2 separate regions of the Homo sapiens genome follow, and region 2 is linked to region 1. Evidence: promoter capture Hi-C in 16 types of primary human blood cells and fetal thymus (Javierre and others, 2016). All regions are on one chromosome and are shown on one strand. Each heading gives the region's core, a stretch centred on a gene start or on the middle of the fragment in contact. The rest is flanking DNA. Distances are from core to core; before and after follow the strand shown. Region 1 holds the start of LIN28B (lin-28 RNA binding posttranscriptional regulator B). Region 2 overlaps LIN28B (lin-28 RNA binding posttranscriptional regulator B).

Region 1 (7,031 bases), core at 1,349-3,848:
ACCCTTCCCTCGCCTCTTCTCTTCCCCTTTCTTTTACCCTCCCCCAAGGTATGTAAATGCATTTGTCTTAAATTCTTCATGAACGAATTTTAGAGGATTTTTCAGGGTTACCAGTTGGAAAAAGCCTTCTACACAACTTGAAAGGCTGATGTCCCTCTCAGGAAATGAATGAGTCGATAACCTCTGACACCAGTGACCACTCCAGTGAACCTTACCTTAATTCCACTAATACTGGAGGCCCCCAATCAGGCAAGACTGTGAATCTCATAACTATACTGTACAGTGTAGTTCAGTTATGGTATTCCACTTTTCACCCACATGTTCATAAATTTGAATTTCATCAAATTTAACAATAAACAGATTCTGAATCTACCTACATTATTATGCTTCTGGTTTTATAATGATTAAACTGTTTTCTAATTAAAAGCAAACTTAAATGAATATTTTACAAAGCTAAACTATACTGGCCTGTGAATTTTGTGATCATTACTTTTATGTAAGTAATAGCATTTCACCTCAATTTACATGAATACTTTCTGAGATTTTTTTCCTCTTATACCAGATGTTGATTTTTTAAAGTGATTATTAAAATATGAAAAAATATAAATTACTTTCTCGATTTCATATTATGTCACAAGCTTAGCCTGTAATGCCATCATTGAGATTACTTTCTTGTCAGTGTAATCAGTATAATAGAAGTAATTTCTACCATCAAAATAATGCCTAGTAAATGTTTTGTTAGTAAATAATTTTTTCAGAGCTTTGAGCTTTTGTTAAACTTTCAAAGTCATTGGATTTTTGCACCTTTTCTTTTCTCCCTAACAGCTGGCACAGGATTATTCCTCCCAAAATAAATAAAATGAGAAAGTAGCCCTTTTTCCTGAGAAATAACAAAAGGAATAACAGACAAAAAAAAAAATCTTTCCAAATTGATTAGTTTTCATTAAACCTTTTATCAAAAACAGCTGAAAATAACTTCTATTTTTTATACATCCATTTTCCAATCTGAGCCAATTAAATTTATATTTAGTTGTTTAATATGGGGAGGGAGTATAAATAGGTGTATACAGCTTTTTCCATAGCTCTTCGATTCATAATCCCTACATTTTAGCTTGTGTGAAACAGTGCTGGAGTGTGGATGTGTTTGAAGAGACTGGGAGGGGGATTGCTGGCATGGTGGGGGAGGGTCAACTCGGTAGCTTTGTCGAAGGAAGTGGTATCTGAACAGTTAGTTTCTTGGTAAACTGCTTGTTTAAGAAAATGGGGGGTGGGGTAGGCAAGTCTGGTGGTGCATTTTAAGGTTTTAAAATAGCGATATTTTATATTTTAAAGGAAATAAAGTCTTTTTAGTTAATCTATAATATTTATTATAGTATTCGATAAGGGCAGAAATACTGTTGCCAGCATCTTGTAATCAATCGTTTGAACCAGTTTGAAAGGTAAAGGGGGTAGGCATTTTGAAACTGGGGGTCAGTTGAGGAAGGACAGTAGGAGCTTCATCCGTTGTTACATTTTCGTTTATTCAACTCTTCTAGCCATTGGTAGTGGACTTTTAAAATGTCAGGGTACAAGTCAATATGATATGAATTTACCTTTTTTCTCCCACTTGTCCTTCTTTCTCCACCCCACCCCCTGCCCGCGCCGGCTTTTTTTCTCTCCCACCTCTTTCTTTGACTCTGCTGCCGCCTATCCTGGCGGCTCCTCTTCACCTCCCCTGCCTGGCGATCCCCTCCCCCTCCTGCCCTATGTCCTCCAGCTCTTGGGGAACAATCGCCACTGATTGAGGTTCACTCTATGTTAGGCTGGAAAACTGGGCTGTTATTTAGGAAGTCATTAATCACATCTCCTCCCCCGGAAAGAGATGGCAGAGAAACCTGTGAAGTACAATTCCTTACCAACCCCCTCTAAAATTTTCCAAAATGGTTTACCTAAACACAATTTGACTATATGAAGGTGAAAACGATTTTTCTAGTAGGATTTTATTTTAAATTTGAAAAAATTTCGGGCATAATCAGGTAATTTATGTGCCTCTGCCTTTTCCTAGGTGTATGTTTTCATTATCTAAAGTTTCATGGGGATGTAATTAGGTTTAATTAGATCTTTTATAAATTATATATTTTCCTCTAAGAATTGAATTAAATATGAAATTAGCGTTCCAAGCAGGTTTACTGCCATGGAATAGCTGAATTCTTAAGGGGAAAAAAAGCGTTAACATCGGTTGTTTTATTTAAACGACCCCCTCCCATGATTTTAGTCAGGCTTGTGTGTAAGGCACGCGTGTGCACATATATGACTGCCTTTTTTTCTAAATCTATGATTCACAAGGTCCCTCCATTGTGTTTAAGTAGAAGCACGAAATCAGCATTCTGATTTATCCTAAAGAAGCGTTCCAAATTGTCTTTAAGATAACATGTTTGAGTTTTTCGTGTTCATTCATAAATTATTTTGATGTCAGCATAGATGAAATGGCGATTGGTTATCTCTTCCTCTTGCCAGCCCCTTAAGGATACGAGGTGAAATTAGTAGCAAGAAAGCATGTAATTGACAAAGTCACGTGTGCTCAGGGGGCCAGAAACTGGAGAGAGGAGAGAAAAAAATCAAAAGAAGGAAAGCACATTAGACCATGCGAGCTAAATTTGTGATCGCACAAAATCAAGATGTTAGATTGATGCAGAAGATCACTCCGTTCCAAAGGGAAAGTTTTCATCTCACGAGTTTGGAGCTGAGGGCCCGTGGGGCAACATGGCCGAAGGTTAATTTTCTTTTCTATTGTTTTACTGTGAATTTCTTTCTTCTTTTCTCCTCCCCCTCCCCCTCTCCCACCCTTCTTAGACCGTCCCCCCCTTCCCCTTTTACCCCAATACTGGGCATTACCTCCCAACCCCCCATCACGCAGTGGGGCTTTCTGCAAACCTATTGTTATAGATCTCCAAAAATGTTTTGTACCGCCCACACTGATTCACAACTTGAAAAGCTTTCAGGGGGCTATTGTTTGAATTGTGTGAGTGTGATTAAGCGCAGTTTCAGTTAGTGATTCCAAGAAAACTTTTATACACCTGCCCCCTCCCCCATTCCACCCCAACTTTAATTGAAAGTTATGGGGGGGAGGGGAATGCACATTGCAAATAACGCTGGATTCAGTGCTGCCCCATGTGCCTTAACTAGTAGCTCTAAACCATCTTCACGATTTCTCTTTCCTCCTCGTGCCCGCCGGAGAGAATAGTTTCGCTGAAAATTTCTCTTTGTCAATGGGATCAGTATTAAATCAGCAATATACAAGTAAAGTATCGCATGCTGTAATGTAAAATGTGGCTGAAAAATGGAGTTAAATGAATAAGTACACGTATGTATAGAAACGTGGAAGTTGGTGTGATCGATAGAACAGTGTGGCTTCCCCCTCCCCCGCTTTCCTTTTAACCCTTTTCATTTTAAGTATTTTCTGTGGAGAAAAGAAATCAAACCATTAAAAAAAATTTTTTTTTTCTGTTACCCTTCCCCCCCAACCCCAGGCAGGCAATTTTTTTTTTTTAATCTTTGAATGCACATTGAATGGGAATACAGACTGACTTTTTTGTCCTGTTCCTTCTCAGGCGGGGCTAGCAAAGGTGGTGGAGAAGAGCCCGGGAAGCTGCCGGAGCCGGCAGAGGAGGAATCCCAGGTTTTGCGCGGAACTGGCCACTGTAAGTGGTTCAATGTGCGCATGGGATTTGGATTCATCTCCATGATAAACCGAGAGGGAAGCCCCTTGGATATTCCAGTCGATGTATTTGTACACCAAGTAAGCCAAACTTTTTTGTCCCCCTCTTCATCTTTTTCCATGTGGAGGAGCTGATCGGTAGTTATGCCAATAGACGTACGATAAGATGTCCTTCGGTATATTGAAAGACAAAATCTTCCCTGAAATCACTAGGTAGTCCAACGTTTAGGGTACGTGTATGGGCCTTTTCCTGGGTTTTCTGTCTAAAGAGAAAAGAAAATATTTGAAATTTCACTATATATATTAAGGTTGACGTTATTAGCATTTCCCCCTGCTTCATTCTACAGCGAAATAGTGTTCTTGTTGTTTCCGGTATTACCTATACAATATACTTTGTCGCCTGTATCTGGTGAATGGGTAGAAAAATGAAGAAACATGATCATTTTAAGGTTGAAAAAACAAAGCGAAACAGTTTGCTGTGGAAAGAAATGTATAGATTGCCTTATTTTAGACACCTCTAGTCACAGTAGCTCCCTTTATTATTTCATCGCTGCCTGTCCTGTAATCATTTTGTAGATTCAGATCAAAATAATTTGACTTCATAGTAAAATAAAATAGAACACTGTTGGCCTAATGTGGTTGTAAAGAAATGCGTGCAATAGAGGGATGCTTGATAAACATTTTAGAAATGTGCTCCGTGTAGTCATTGGTCTACGTATACTGTCTCTTTAAGAGACTGAACTCAAAAAAACATGTGGCCAGAGGCGGCTCTTGCTTGTGTGTTTAAAATGTGCTGGTCTGCTACTTGGGGTAAATTTCCACCTTTGCTCGTATTGTGTTGTAATTTTTAAAGATGTTTTAATACCAAACAGAATTTCATTGCTTCCCATTTTCAAAATTTTACCCAGGAAATAATGAATTAATACTTCTGCCTTTACTCCTCTCTACTGCTTAATCCCTTTATAGTAAAAAAGATACTTTTATGGAAGCCGGTTGTTTCCTCAAAAAAAGGTAAATATAAATTTTCTGTAGTTAGAAATAAAGAGGTTTACGACTAAAGAGGTTTATTTTGGCATGATAATCTAAGTTAAAAAGAATTGAATGAAAGGCTGTTAATACTACAGATTGACTGACAGATACATGGGTGAAATATTTGGTATATTTGCTTGAAAAGTATATATTTGATACTGTGTTGCATGTTCCTAGTAATATTTATACCCCCTTCCCTAAGGAATATCATCTTCAAATTAAATATATAAACAATAGAAACATATGAAACCATTCTGTTTTGATCTGTTGTCCTGTGGTGCTTGGTAGCTTCCTGACCTTGCTGTGTGGTGTGTGTTTTCCTTTCCTGAAGGCCTGGCCATCATTATTGGCTGTTTATATGTGGAAGGATCAGCATAATCTGTGAATTGAAACAGGGTTTAAGTACACAAATACAAGTCCACATACAGACTACTGGATTTTATGCTTCCTATTTTATAGTGCAAAATGAAGCTACATTTTCTGTTTTTTCCCCTCTAAGACTGGATGACAAAAATCATAGACAAATCCATTTTCTCTCAGGCTCTTTCTTCCACCTTTGAACCTTCTTTAGGTTGTTAAATTGTTTTTTATGATCTCATAAATTTGTTTTATAGATGAATGAAAAAAATAACCCTTCTTTGTCTGGTCACGCCTTTTTATAATTTGATTTTCTATGTTTACCTTCTAAAATATTCATCAAATGTTAAGATATTTTATTAACCAATGTTAATGTTTAGAACAACAAGACATTTGTGTTTATACTATTTAATGATTATATATTGATAAACATTCCTCTATTCACTGAATTAAAACATGTAGCTGCTGAAGTTTTTTAAATATATAGCTGTTTCTATACTATAAACATTGATTTTTAAATAGTTGACTTAATATTCAGTTACATACAGTAGTATATACATACAGTTCATGTATATATTAAAAGGACAGTATTAAATGATGCCTAGTTAAAGAGGTTTCTTATATTGTAATATACATAAATTGTATATAAATTGTATGAATAATTGTTTTGAAGAAGGCAGGAATCCTACTGATGTTAGCTAAGCAACTACAAGTAACAGATGGTTGTAAATGATACAGGTATTATGTGTGCATCACTTATGGAATAAGGTTGCAATTCAAGACGATTTCATAGAATTTTAAAAAACATTTTTATTATTATTTTAGAGGCCTTTTTAGTTTTATAAGCATTTTTGAAAACATACCAGGTTTTATGTCTATGTACTATTTTGTTGTGAAAGGATATGTATCATAGGTGATTAGGAATTTTAAATGTTCAACTGGACCTATGTCTACTCAAAATTTTTAAAATATATGACATAGTTTTTTTTGAAGTGTTTGGAAGTACATGTGTCACTGGATTTTTTTTTTGAAGTATTCTGAAACATTTTTAATAATGTATATTTGGAGAAATAAAAAACAAATTATTTGTGTCCTTAATAAATACATAAAAATTTATGCTGAGGAACCTAGGATACTTTTTCTCTTAAAAATATTGATTGCATGTAACAGCATATCAAAACATATTCAGTTGCTTCAAAATAAAGAGAATATATATATGTGTGTGTTTTAAAATTGAGCTGTGTATTTGTAGTTATGTATATTTATAGTTACATAACTCTACTTAAAATTTATTGGCAGTAATACCATCAAACTTTCTTGTAGTTCCTGTGATGTCACCAAATCCTCAAAAAGAAACACATGCCTAGGTGCTGTACTTTGTCTCTCTTTAGTCTCTCTTTAGACATGTTGATAAATGCTGTGAGATTCTGCTATTTGAGGATGGTATGTAACCATTGATGGTTTAAAATGACAGTCTTCATTTGATTTTCTAATGTTAATTTGTAATTTAAATAATCATATTTTTATGATGTGAAAATATATATTCTGACCCATGTTAATTGTGAAACATTGATATAGTTCAATAATGAATATTTTATTTTTAAAAAATTAACAAAATATGTAAGTATTATATTTGTGAATTTTGTCATATCTCACTGTTGAAGTTTTTAAAAAATGTTTAATAAAATAGGACAATTTTGATGATTTTATTTTTAAATATATTTAAGAATTTCTCGAGTAATACAAACACAGATTTGTTTCAAATGAAGTAAGGATATACGTGGTTAATACAAATTTGTTACGTCTAAATTCTTTTATTTTTTTTTTGAGGTGGAGTCTCACACTGTCACCCGGGCTGGAGTGCAGTGGTGAGATCTCGGCTCACTGCAACCTCCACCTCACGAGTTCAAGCGATTCTTCTGCCTCAGCCTCCTGAGTAGCTGGGATT
Region 2 (7,031 bases), core at 2,346-4,845, 100 kb after region 1:
TCGTGTCACTATGAATAACAGTATCTTAAACATATTTAGAACTGTAAAATTGAACTCAGGGTTTCTAAAGCAGTTGGAATTCATGGGACAGGATACTGGAGAGAAGAGATCTGTGCAAAGGAGAACTCCTGTACCTCTCCCTCCTTAGTCTTGATTAAGGGCCAGGTTGCATGTGCACAGGTTGAGGCCCTTCAAAGCACAGCAGCAGGCTTTGTTGTCTGGCAGAGAGATAAGCAAAAATATCTTCATATTTATTATATTCATATTTCTTTATTTTCTTTGATTCAGTTTGTGCTATTTCCTTATAATCTGCTTTTTAAGTTCGCTAAATTTTTCTTCAGTTTCTAAGTTACTGTTATTCAATCCATGAATATTTTCATTTTAGATATTGTAGTTTTCAGCTCTAATATTCCTGGTTGTTGTTGTTGTTTTAATAGTCTGTCTTTCTTCCTTCCCTCCACCCTTCAGACAGGGTCTTCCTTCCAGCCCAGGCCGGAGTGCAGTGGCATGATCATGGCTCACTGCAGCCTCAGCCTCCCAGGTTCAAGCAGTCCTCCCATCTCAGCCTCCTGAGTATGTGCACGCCACCATGCCTGGCTTTTTTTTTTTTTTTTTTTTTGGGTAGAGACTGGATTTTGCCATGTTGCCCAGGCTGGACTGAACTCCTGGGCTCAAGCAGTCCTTCCACCTTGGCCTCCCAAGGTGCTGGGATTACAAGCATGAGCCACTGTGCCCAGCCTCTGTTTTTATTTTTTTCTACCACTATTCCTCATTTGTTCATTCATTATGTCCATCTTTTCTTTTAAGTTGTTGAACATATTTATGATAGCGATTTTGAGTTATTTCCTGCTATTTCCAACATTTGGGTCTTTTTAAGATCTTGACTACTTTTTTCCTTAAATATGGGTCACTTTTTCCTGCTTCTTTTCATGCGTAGTAATTTTTTTATTGTATGTAGAATATTGGGCTGATAGATTGTAGGGAGTCCGGGTCATTTGTTTTCTCTACAAGATGTTGACTTTTGTTCTGGTAGACAGTTTTTGCTTTTGCCAATTTTGTTTTTATTTTAGATTATGGTAGATCTATTTTCATGTTTTGCTTAGTCCTAGGATGCAGTCCTAGGGTACATAGAGTATGATCCTTATTCCTAAGGCATGAGTTTACTAGGATCTCAAGTGAAATGCCTGTGTTTCTCGATTTGAAATCCATTGTGGTTTCTTGACTTCTGGCCAGGCCAGAACTCCAGTATCTCCCAGCATTTTGTGGCCTTGGATATTTTTGCTTATCTCTCTGCCAAACAACAAAGTCTGCTGCTGTGTTTTGAAGGGTCTCAACCTGTGCTGCACACATGCAACCTGGCCCTTAATTACGAATAAGGAGGGAAAGGTACAGGATTTGCACAGATCTCTTCTCTCCAGTATCCTGTCCCAAGAATTCCAACTGCTTTAGAAACTCTGAGCTGAAATTTATGCCTTTATGGCTCACTGAGATCCTGCTGTGCTTGTGTTTCATTGTCTTCTTGCCCCTTAGTCCCAAAAGTCTACCCAGGCAGAAAGCTGGGGCAAACATCTGGGCTTACTTTGAGTGTTTCCATTCTATCAAGCGCTACAGTTTTTTACTACTTATTGTCCTATCCAGTGACAATAAACAGTTGCGTCTTATATCTTTCCCATTGTTATAGCTGTAGACCACAGAAGAGTAAGTCTAATAAGTCTATCATATTCAGAAGCCCACTGAACCTATATACAGTATTCATAACTTTTTTTGTAATGCAGAGATAAAATATCTATACTATAAAAATTACATGTAGAAATTTATTTTGGGGTTGCATGTTGTTTTACAGCCTAACTGTGGTACCATTTCCAGAGATAATTTCTTTATAACCTCTTGTATTAGTTTTTGTTTTCCAATCCATCAGCTATTCCCCATCACCTATTAAAGGATCTGGTCTCTAAGGTCTTTTTATATACGTGACACTGAATTTATGTCTCAGCATGAGGTTGAATTAAAATATATGTGGCATGTTTTCTGCTACACATCATCACTATCATCTGCCATCTGACAGCATAGGAAATTATTTGGCTCCTACACTTATACCTAACATGCAGCTCATTTGAAGAGTGTTGTATTTCTCATTTTTGCAGTGTTGAGTGTTTAATTTGCCTTGACATGTTATGCTGCTTCAATCAAGGTGATTTTTCTTCCTCTTTCTGTATATGTATATTACTCAGTATAATTTTTATCTTAGTATCCCCGTGTACCTCTTCTTTCATTTCTTTTACTTGTATGGAATGGCTTAAAGCCAATTTATTTATCATAGACAAGTACAAGCATTGATATTTTATTGTATTATTGTGTAGTTTTACCACTATATTTTAAAATTGAAGTATGTATTAGTTTACTATAAATTACTTTTTTCTATATATTATGGTTAAGGAATATAGATAGTTTAAATTATATGTATATAGAGATTACATTACTTTAAGTTTATTTCAGTATAAGAATAGGGGCATTACAAAAATACTTAGTATAAAAAGGAAATATTGACCTAGTAGTGTTAAGAAGTGTTGCTTTAAACAAGTTAAAACATACTTATTTTATAGTCTGAATCTGAGCAATTCAATATCTGAACGTTTTGGATCTAATTCTACTGGCTGTATGCAGCTCATGGTCCCTTATTTATTTAATTATTTTGTCTTTTATGATTTTTTTAACCAGAAATTCATATTTCTTGAACTTTTGTCTACAGGAATTTTTTGACTCCTGGCTTGACGGTGCATTTTCTCTGAGGAGGGTATGTGTTTATTTTATCATGTTCCTAGAGGTACTTGTACCAACTGGGAACCATTTAAAAAGAAATTCTCAGCTTGAGTTGTAGCCCCACATGAGCTGCAACACCATATAGCATCTGGCTTGTGATATCAGTTCTCAAGGGGGAGATCGTTTTCTCTTCCTCCCACCACATAGTTGGGAGCAGAAAAGTTATCTTGCCTTTTCCCTTCTTTGAGGTAACTACTTTTCATTGGTCTTTACATTCTGAGTATAGTTTTGGGCAGGGTTTCCAGCTTTCTGTGGGACAGGATCTCCTGTTAGACTCCTAATTCTGGACAGATCTTAGGCTTTGTTTTCTAACTCCTCTGCTGCATCAACCAGTTTACAAGATGAAAGCTTCAGATTGTTGCTAGTGTTCTGTAGATGTCTCCAGAATGAGAGGCTATTTCAGTGCTCCACTGACCTCCCTAGTTTTCTGCTTTCACTTTGTTTTTGGCTTCTAAGCATCACTGACTTTTCAGTGCCATCAGCAAAGCAGTTCAAAGGATGCTTTAGAATATTTTTCCAGCATTTTTAGTTGTTTTTCAGTGGTATGGTTGTTCAGAATATTTTATATGCTACTTTGAAGGAAATGAAGTGTATTTTTGTATGTAATGTAATTATGTTATATATAATGTCATTTTAATGTATGGTTGTTGCTTTTTAAAATTTGCACTTTTGCTCCTGTGGGTATTTTAAAGGTATTTGTGCCATTTTTCTTTCTCTTTTTGTGAATTACCTGTTCACGTCCATTGTCTGTTTTTCTATTGGACTCTGGTGATTTTCAAAAGAATATATAGTACATGGCTTTGGAAAGGGCTGCTTTTCTGAGGAAATGAGTCCCCTAGGAAGATCTGTTTCCTAAGATATGCTTGTCAGACTTTGAGGAAGTTTGATACTGGCGCTATGGTTTAATTTTAGTTCCTTAATTCTTTTGTATTCGTTTTATGTTCTATCTGTGGCCTCTTACTATCTCCTACTTGCTAAATCCAGCAGTCTATTTTAATACCTCATCTTGTTTGATCTATTAGCCCCTTTCTTGAATGCGAAACTGTATGTTGTGTGTGTGTGTGTATATATATATGTATTTTTTTTTTTAAACTAGGGAGAAGTATCTCTTTTCTTGTCTTCCTTCTACTTTTCTGGCTGTTCCTTCTTAGAAAGCCTAACTGGTTCCTCCACCTGAAAGTTATTAAATAGTGGATTTCCTGAAAGCTTTGGCTGCAGTTCTTGTTTCACTCTTCACATTTTGCTAGGTGACCTCTGAGCTTTAGCTACTGTCTGTTCTTTCAGTGATGTCTCCCAAGTCTGTGACTTCAACCTTAGCATCTCTTCAAGTTTCAGACTCGCTGTGTCTCCAGAGATGCACATCCACATGTGGTTAACTTGTAGTTTTTCCATTACTATTTTATTGAAAAATCATTATAGTGGTAAGTGAAGCTTAGTAAGATTTGACAAAAAATTGATTAGATAAAGGGAAATTGAACTGTGCAGTAGTTTTGCCCAAAAGATGAAGCTTCTGCCATAGAGTTACATTATAGCTCAGTGGGTGCCCGTTACTCTGAAATATTACTAAAATGTATGACAATACTATTTGGCCCAAAAAGTATGGCAAATAGGAATTCATGTTTTTATTGCATTTGACACTAGTCATTTTGCATTTCTTCCACTTTAATGATGCTGCCCTTTAGTACTAAATATTCTTTTTTCATCCTTACATTCCAGCATCTTACAATATTTTCCCTTTTCATTTTCTTTATTCTCATGTTACTGTATTTTTTTTTTTTTAAGATGGAGTTTGGCTCTTGTTGCCCAGGCTGGAGTGCAATGGTGCAATCTCAACTCACCACAACCTCCGCCTCCCAGGTTCAAGCGATTCTCCTGCCTCAGCCTCCCGAGTAGCTGAGATTACAGACATGCACCACCATGGCTGGCTAATTTTGTATTTTTAGTAGAGACAGGGCTTCTCCATGTTGGTCAGGCTGGTCTTGAACTCCCAACCTCAGGTGATCCGCCTGCCTTGGCCTCCCAAAGTGCTGGGATTACAGGCGTGAGCCACCGTGCCCAGCCTTTTACTCTGTTTTTTAATAATACAAGGTGAAGGTGACTGATTTGCTAATTCATTTTTTTGTTTGTTTGTTTCTTTGTTGAGATAGGGTCTCGCCTTTTTGCCCAGGCTGGAGTGCAGTGGTGTGATCATGGCTCACTGCAGCCTCAACCTACTGGGCTCAAGCGATCTGCCCACCTCTGCCTCCCAAAGTTGTTGAGATTATAGGAGTGAGCCACTGTGCTTGACCTATAATTAATTTTTTGTTTGTTCGTTTCATTTATATTATCCACAGTAATATAAATAGGGTCACAGTGGTTGGTGACTGAGTGGTATGAGCAGACTGATAGATGCACCTGGAGTATCAGTTACAGTGACCGATCTGTGACATGGCATGAAGGCTAGAGATCAGGAATCTACTCCCAAATAGACAGGAAGCTGAGATGACTTCATGGGTTTAGGAGAGTTGACTTCCAGTAAGCATGATGTTTTAAAGCCCAAAATATAGTGACTTTTTCAATAGTGCTTTTTCCATTTCTTTGAGCCAACCAGGTATTATACCAGTAAACACTGTGAATGCAATGATAAATGTAGAACTTATTGGAAGAGATTTGGAAACTAGGGTTGGGTCAAAATGACCTTGAAGAGATGAGTTGAGTTTGAGATTACAAGAAAACATAAAAGTGGGAATAATTTGTGAGTGATCAGAGTAAAGAAAGTAGTTTGTATATAGGAAGTTGATTAATTTTTCAAAAGGGAGTTGGTAGACAAATATAAGTATAGATCTTGGTGACTCTAGAAAGGTACTGAGAACAAGATAGGAAAATTATATCAGTAAGGTAGAAAGAAAACCACTTTAATATTCTGAAAACCAGATGAAAGAACAGTCCCTAGAATATAGGAATAGTCAGCAAATTCCCAGTACTTAAAACTGTACTACACAAAGATAGTCTACTTTATCATTTCCTTTATCTGCAAATTTTCTGATAGAATTTATATGAACTAAGTTACCCTGCAATTTGATTTTTAGGGACTCCAAGGGGTGAAGCAGAAAAATATTAAATATTTAGACAGTGAACTACATACAGGAAGAAATGCATGGCATCTGCAACAAAGCAAATTAATTTACTAATATCTAATCAAAATGGAACAGTAGGAGATGGTCAAGAAAATTCCAGTATAAAAGGAATGGAAAATAGAAATTAATTATAGAGCATTCATAAGATATATATATTGTATCATTATTGGGCTATTTAGTTTGATCTCTTTAGCATTCTTGTAAAGAGAAAAATATTTTAAGCTTCTTCTGCTATTTATTTTTGCTCTCGCTCCCCCCACCCCCACCCCCCAGTTCATGAGGGCTTCAATTCATCTACCATGAATTGTCTTAACACTAGTGGAGAAATTTCACCTACCATTTATATATGGAGGTTTATAATTAACAAAACATTTTAAAATATGTATCTCATTTAAGACCAACAGCAACCAAATGAAGTAAGTGGAAATTATGTTCATCTTCAAAAATGAATTCTTGAAGTATGAAGCTTACTTATAGATGAGGAAACCCAGAGAGATTAGGTGGTTTTATCATGGACCACCATCTGAGTTACAGGCTGAAATCCTGGATTCCCTTTTTTATTAGATTTGAGGTCATGAACAATGTGTACATAAACTTTGAAACTTAGGGGTTTTTTTTTCTACTGTAAGATGAAAGTTTTAAAAATATTACATTGTAAAATATATTTAATATTCTGCTCAGTAGTCTTCGTTTCCATTTTCTTTTCCAAGCCAGCCAACTTGCCTTCCTAAACATGTCCTCTACTTTTCTACTTCGGTGTTATACTCAGGCCATTTATTTGCCTGGCATATTTTCTTTCCCATCTCTGCATCTATTTAAACCTTACTCATTTTTATTTTTATTCTAATGTATTTATTTATTTTAGACGGAATATTTTCTTAAATGGTACTGCTCCTTGCGGAGCAGGGCTGACTCTGAGGCAGGGCTCTCAGAGTCAGCCTAAACCTTACTCATTTTAAAATAACTTTTAAGTACTATGTTGCAGCCAGGCCAACTCCTTTACAAAGTCATCCCTCTCGCTCTCAGTAATTGTGATTGTGTCATTGTTCTGTTTTGTTTTGTTTTTGATTATGTCATTTTTGGAAAAGACATAAC

What was found. Contacts are between HindIII fragments. The CHiCAGO score rates a contact against its expected background, and 5 or more counts as called.
Region 2: a contact is called between a fragment that was not itself captured here and the fragment with the promoter of LIN28B in region 1, in 1 of 17 cell types (megakaryocytes). The highest score is 7.6, in megakaryocytes.

The regions. Positions count from the first base shown.
Region 1 is chr6:104,954,509-104,961,539 of GRCh38, forward strand. LIN28B (lin-28 RNA binding posttranscriptional regulator B) reads left to right here and starts at 2,599. Exons shown (of 4, transcript NM_001004317.4): 1 at 2,599-2,752; 2 at 3,591-3,778. The coding sequence starts at 2,743. RefSeq lists enhancers at 1,612-2,549, 2,550-3,487. The HindIII fragment of the contact is 2,336 bases long and covers 637-2,972 here.
Region 2 is chr6:105,055,322-105,062,352 of GRCh38, forward strand. The region is part of intron 3 of LIN28B (lin-28 RNA binding posttranscriptional regulator B); the gene reads left to right. Among named protein-coding and RNA genes, the nearest start is that of POPDC1, 78 kb to the right of the region's middle. The HindIII fragment of the contact is 858 bases long and covers 3,167-4,024 here.